Regions from separate parts of the Homo sapiens genome. Here region 2 is linked to region 1. The links are contacts of gene promoters, found by promoter capture Hi-C in blood cells and fetal thymus (Javierre and others, 2016). All regions are on one chromosome and are shown on one strand. Each heading gives the region's core, a stretch centred on a gene start or on the middle of the fragment in contact. The rest is flanking DNA. Distances are from core to core; before and after follow the strand shown. Region 1 holds the start of FAM53B-AS1 (FAM53B antisense RNA 1). Region 2 holds the start of ABRAXAS2 (abraxas 2, BRISC complex subunit).

Region 1 (3,148 bases), core at 202-2,701:
CTGGCTGTAGCACGCCAGGGAAAGCCTTGCGGAGCAGGGATACTTGATTTGGCCTTGAAGGGTGAGAAGAAGTGGCTTAGAAACCGTTGGGTCCAGCCTCCTTGTTTTACAAATGAGGCAGCTGCAACCTGGAGCAGGCAGTAACTGCCTCACTGGCTCCGCCTCCGCCTTCCCTCCTGCCCCTCTAGCCCCACTTCCTGGGCCTGCATTCAGGCCTCTGCCTGTTGCCTGGTGTCTGGACGCCAGTCTTGGTGGCCCTCCCTCAGTCAGGTCTCTTCAGCCCTTACCAGATGTGACACTGGTGCCACTCTGCTCATGGGCCTCAGCCTGTGAGGTCTCCATGGGGTGTCACCCCCAGCTGCAAGGATAGGGACTCAGCTTTGCTCCTCCCCATGTCCCCAGCACTACTGAGGCAGGGCAGACAGCAGGCACCTGAGGTGTGTTTGCTCGATGGCAGCCTTGGTCACTGCAGCGAGGAGTAGAGCTGCTGTGACCATTCAGCTCTTCTGCTACCACCCCATCCTTTCCAGTTCACATTTGCTGTGTGATGTGATTACTTCTCACCAGCCCCGCTGCCACCACCCTGGTTCCACCTGCTGTTCTCTCGCAAGGATTCTTGTGGTAACTGGTCCCCTGCCTCTGGCTCTTTTTAACCTGTTCTCCACCCAGCAGCCAGAGAGAATCCCAGTCAGAGCTGTCCTTCTCTGTGTAGCAGCTTCCACTGGCTTTACACTGAATGCTTAGCAAACACCCAGCCCTTACTAGGATGTACATGGCCCCATATATTCTTGTCCATGTGACTGCTTTGACCTCATCTCTGCCACTCTGCCCCCTCTGCTCGGTCCCCACTGGCCTCCCTATTCCAATATGCCAAGCGTGAGCCTGCCTCAGGCCTTTGCACTTTTTCCTTGGCCTGGAGCCCTCTCCCCACAGTAGGACATACTCCCTCCCTCCTTCCTTCTCTGGCTACTCAACCTACAGTTCAGTCCCAGCGCCAGCGCCCACCCCTTACCCCCACCACACTTTCTCTCCTCTTTTCCTTTTTCCCTCTTGGGCACTTAGCACTTTTAAACATGTCCCTGTGGATCTTGACCGAGTCCTTATACTAGAATGGGAGCTTTGAGAAAGCAGAGGATGTCTCTCTTACTTGTTGTTGAATGCACGGGGCCCAGCCCGTGGCAGGTGCTCAGTGGATGTTTGTGGATGGATGAGCTTGCAGGTTCCTGTCACCTGGCCTCTTCTCATTCACCATTGTCTTACTCTCTCTCTGGCTGCTGCTCCAGTTCACGACTGAGTGGGTGCGACTAGAGTAGCTCTGACCAAAAAGAAGGGACCTCAAGGGTGAGGAGCCATCTGGAGGTCCCGAGGGAGGAGCCCTACCCGGGTCCAGCTGTGCAGTTGGCTGCAGTGGCCGCCTCTGTGCTTGGTCCCTTCTCAGGGTGGGACTGCCTGGTGTTGGCTTCAGAGTTGGTTCCAGGACATGTGGGCCCAAGGTCAGCTGAGCTGCTCTTCCAAGAGGTGTGGCCTGAGCCCCTGCCAGGAGGAGCACGGCCTCCCAGCCCTGGCCAGGGAAGGAAAACTCATCTCAGAAAGGGAAAGCAGTCAGGGGAGAGCAGGCGGCTTTGCTGGAAGGGATTCTACCATGTGTTCTCTTGTGGCCACACAGATTAGAATCTGTGCTTTCTTCCTGAACTCTCCTTGCTTTGTTGGAAAGTATCCTTCTTTCTGCTGCTTTTTGTTACTGGCCTGTCCGGGCCCAGAACCACCCAGTGTGCAGTGCTTTGGGTCCATCTGTGGTCTTCCTCCTCCTCTTCTCTCCCCTTGGCTCCAGATGAGAGGTCTGTTGTGGGGAGCAGCCCTGTTGGAGATGGGCTTTCTCATTGCTCAGTTTGCTTATGCGCCCAGAACACATTGACTGGGCGTCAGTGCCTGGCCCGGCCTGGCTCAGCGCTGCCTGCGCTATAGCGTGGGCCAGCAGGAAGGTGTTGGAGGTGCAGCTACACTGAGGGTCTTGGGAAGTGTGTTAGTTCATATCATGTTGCTATGAGGAATACCTGAGGCTGGGTAATTTATAAAGAAAAGAGATTTACTTGGCTTATGGTTCTGCAGGCTGTATAAGAAGTATGGCACCGGCCAGGCATGGTGGCTCACGCCGGTAATCCCAGCACTTTGGGAGGCTGAAGAGGGCGGATCACGAGGTCAGGAGATCAAGACCATCCTGGCTAATATGGTGAAGCCCCGTCTCTGCTAAAAATACAAAAAATTAGCTGAGTGTGGTGGCAGGCGGGCGCCTGTAGTCCCAGCTACTTGGGAGGCTGAGGCAGGAGAATGGCTCGAACCTGGGAGGCGGAGCTTGCAGTGAGCCGATATCACAGCACTACCGCACTCCAGCCTGGGCGACAGAGTGAGACTGTGTCTCCAAAAAAAAAAGTATGGCACCTGCATCTGTTTCTAGTAAGGCCTCACGAAGCTTCCAGTCATGGCAGAAGGTGAGGGGAGAATAAGTGTGTCACGAGGTGAGAGAGGGAGCAAGAGGGAAGGGAGGAGGTGCCAGACCTGTTAAACTACCAGCCCTCACATGAACTAGAAGAGCGAGGACTCCCTGATCACCATGGGGAGGCCACCAAGCCATTCATGAGGGATCCGCTCCCATGACCCAAACACCCCCCACCAGGCCCCGCCTCCAGCATTGGGGGTTACATTTCAACATGAGATTTGGAGGGGACGAACATCCAAACTGTATGCCCAGAGGTCCAGGTACCTCCTCCCTGTCCTTGAGCCTCATGCCACCTGCTGAGGGGCAGGGGTGCACCCATTTCTACCCCATTATACAGGAAGGAAACTGTGGCTCAGAGAGCCCAGGGAGGGGCTGCCCTGGTCACAGATTTCAAGTCCAGGCCCTTGTCTGCTTCCCCCAGCACCTTCTCGCATGGGCCCTGTTCCAGAGGCTGTGATCGCCTTGGAGCCCCTCCAGGCCTTGGGGAGAGACACACGATGTAAATAACTGAAGAAATACTGAAAATAATCTTAGTCTAGTGATGACATCCACGGGACAGAATGTGAGATAAGCTGATGCTAGCATTTGCTTTGAACAGCCAGCAAAGGTTCAGAGGAAGTTGACGGGGTTTTGCTTTAGCTTCCTAAACTG
Region 2 (3,148 bases), core at 393-2,892, 98 kb before region 1:
TGGTTTTAAATTAATTTCTTGACTGGACAAAATAAGTATGTACTACAAAAGTAAATTGTTGGTTCTTCAACCTTAAAATTGAAATTATTTTCAAGGATTCCACATCTATAATTGTGGCAAAGTTAATATAAACAGGCATGGTCATATAAAACACAGTTGCAAACTATTGGCATTGGTGAAAATTTCTATGAAGTCAAGCACCACGCCTTGCAGAGTAGATATTAAGGGATATCTCTTGAATTAATTTTTTTCAACAGGTAGCTGCTTGTTCTTACAGTAATCTTGCCATATACATAAACTGTGATATTAGTAGGCATTCAAGAAATAAAGGACCCATTTTTAATAGTCCATGGACACTAGGGGTATCACAAACCCTTACATATGGAACTATATTACATTATTAAATAGCTGGTTGTAGTACCCTAGGCCATAGTCTTCAAAGCTGCTTCTGGAAAAACCCATGATGTATATATTCCTATTCCTATCATTAAGTTCTACCATCAACACTGAAGAGATGAAAGGTACAATAATTTAATTGCATTCAATTTACTAATGGAATCACCTCCCTGTGAAATCAGTTTTTATTAATGGAAGCTAAGATTGCTGACATCAAACCAAATGCAGTTCCTCCTTCTGCAGTGTACCATTTTGCTTTGTAATGACAACCAAAAACCCCACACATAGGTTTAATGAGTTTGAATCATTCACTATTAACATCACTTAAAATAATCCCCCAATTTGGTGGCCAAATTATATACCTCCTTTAAGAGAGAAGTGATCTAGTTTCACAAAGCATTTCCAATCAGAGGCCAATGACGTTAAAAGACAATTTGTAAAATAAAGACACTGAAACAGACAGGATCTGCTCCTCCTGTGGGCTCACAGCCTATGCATTTCCCATCACTCAGTAGTGGGCCTGTCACTTCCCTATTTCACTGTGACTAGTGAAAGAACTAGTCACAAAGAACTAAACACGCAACTTCAAGGAAATACAAAATAGACCCTGCACCGAACGCTCCTGTATACATTCTCCATTTTGCATCAGGGCGAAGAAAACACACAACCGTGTCTAACAAGTATCAGTAGTGACAGCCACGGTTTCACTCGCAGCACCCCCACGACAACCTGCGAGACCGGCGGGCGGGGCTGAGTACCTCGCCTACTGGACTAAACGCCCGGCCTTTAGATTCCTTCCCGACCCCGTGCGCCCCTCTTAAGTCTAGAAGCCTGACTTTCAGGGAGGGGCAGGCGCTCGGTTTCCACCGAGCGACTCCTGACACTGCAGGAGGCCAGGTGGGACAGTTTTGCTGCACGGGAGACGGCTGTGCCGGGACGGCCGAGCGGCTGAGAGCGCGAAGCCAGGGGGCCTGTCCCAGGGGCGAAGGAGCCCCCAGAGGCAAGAGCTCACCGGGGGCGGGAGCCGCCCGGGTCACCAGCTCCTCCGGCCGGCCCTGGTGCCCAGGGGGCGAGCCGCATGAGGTCCCGGCTTGGCCGCGAGCGCCGGCCTGAGACAGAGGCTGAAAGCCCCCAGCGGGCGCGGCAGGGGGCCCGGCACCTACGTGGTCCGCGTTGCTGTTGGCGCTGTGGAAACACACAGCACTGAAGGTGTAGCCCGAAATGGACGCCGCCATGATGGAAATCTCCAGCTACCCCATCATGCCCCGCGGAGGGCACACGGCCTTCCGGACGGCCCGACCCCTTGGCATCATGGGAAGTGGAGTCTGCGGCGGGCAGCGGCCGAGGGCCCTGAGCGCTCACAGTCTTGAAGGCTGAGGAACGCCGGTTTTTGCGATCGGAAGGACCCCGGCACCGTATCCTCCGCAGGGGTGTCGCTCCCGACACGCCTCAGACAGCGGTTGATAGTTCCGCAAACAGTTCTTTCCCTTTGCAAGTGAAACCTTAGTATTAAAAGACAACATTCTAGCCGGGCGCAGTGGCTCACGCCTGTAATCCCAGCACTTTGGGAGGCCGAGGCGGGCGGATCACCTGAGGTCAGGAGTTCGAGACCAGCCTGACCAACATGGAGAAACCCTGTCTATATTGAAAATACAAAAACTAGCCGGGCGTGGTGGCACATGCCTGTAATCTCAGCTACTCGGGAGGCTGAGGGAGGGGAATGGCTTGAACCCGGGAGGCGGAGGTTGCGGTGAGTCGAGATCGTGCCATTGCACTCCAGCCTGGGCAGCAAGAGCGAAGCTTCGTCTCAAAAAAAAAAAAAAAAAAAAAAAAAAAAGGCCAACATTTAGGCTGAGCGTGGTGGCTCGCGCCTGTAATCCCAGCACTTTGGGAGGCCGAGGTGGGCGGATCACGAGGTCAGGAGTTTGAGACCATCCTGGCTTACACGGTGAAACCCCGTCTCTACTAAAAATACAAAAAATTAGCCGGACGTGGTGGCGGGCTCCTGTAGTCCCAGCTACTCAGGAGGCTGAGGCAGGAGAATGGCGTGAACCTGGAAGGCGGAGCTTGCAGTGAGCCGAGATCGCGCCACTGCACTCCAGCCTGGGTGACAGACCAAGACTCCGTCTCAAAAACAAAACAAAACAAAAAGCCAACATTTGAGGCCGGGCGCGGTGGCTCATGCCTGTAATCCCAGCACTTTGGGAGGGGGGGGCGTGTGTGGGGAGTGTTAACCTGAGGTCAGGAGTGTTATGCGCGTTTGTGTGAAGAGACCACCAAACAGGCTTTGTGTGAGCAACAAGGCTGTTTATTTCAACTGGGTGCAGGCGGGCTGAGTCCGAAAAGAGAGTCAGCAAGGGAGATAGGGGTGGGGCCGATTTATAGGATTTGGGTAGGTAGTGGAAAATTACAGTCAAAGGGGGTTGTTCTCTGGTGGGAAGGGGCGGGGGTTACAAGGTGCTCAGTCGGGGAGCTTCTAAGCCAGGAGAAGGAATTTCACAAGGTAATGTCATCAGTTAAGGCAGGAACCGGTCATTTTCACTTCTTTTGTGATTCTTCAGTTACTTCAGGCCATCTGGATGTATACGTGCAGGCCACAGGGGATATGATGGCTTAGCTTGGGCTCAGAGGCCTGACAAGGAGTTCAAGACCAGCCTGGCCAACATGGTGAGACCCTGCCCACTCCCCTCTGCCCATCTCTATTGAAAATACAAAAACTAGCCGGGCATTCTGGTGCATGCCTGTAATCTCA

Evidence for each region. The method cuts DNA at HindIII sites, captures the fragments that hold promoters and counts their contacts. A CHiCAGO score of 5 or more calls a contact.
Region 2: a contact is called between the fragment with the promoter of ABRAXAS2 here and the fragment with the promoter of FAM53B-AS1 in region 1, in 5 of 17 cell types (activated CD4 T cells, naive CD8 T cells, total B cells and 2 more). The highest score is 9.3, in activated CD4 T cells.

What each region holds. Positions count from the first base shown.
Region 1 is chr10:124,702,331-124,705,478 of GRCh38, reverse strand. It overlaps FAM53B-AS1 (FAM53B antisense RNA 1), which reads right to left and starts at 1,451. Exons shown (of 2, transcript NR_120631.1): 1 at 1,148-1,451. All of the region lies in intron 2 of FAM53B (family with sequence similarity 53 member B), which reads left to right. RefSeq lists an enhancer at 1-249. The HindIII fragment of the contact is 3,544 bases long and covers 1-2,472 here.
Region 2 is chr10:124,800,313-124,803,460 of GRCh38, reverse strand. It overlaps ABRAXAS2 (abraxas 2, BRISC complex subunit), which reads right to left and starts at 1,642. Exons shown (of 9, transcript NM_032182.4): 1 at 1,560-1,642. The coding sequence starts at 1,631. RefSeq lists a silencer at 1,367-1,446 and enhancers at 935-1,488, 1,547-1,816, 1,489-2,043. The HindIII fragment of the contact is 5,454 bases long and covers 1-2,198 here.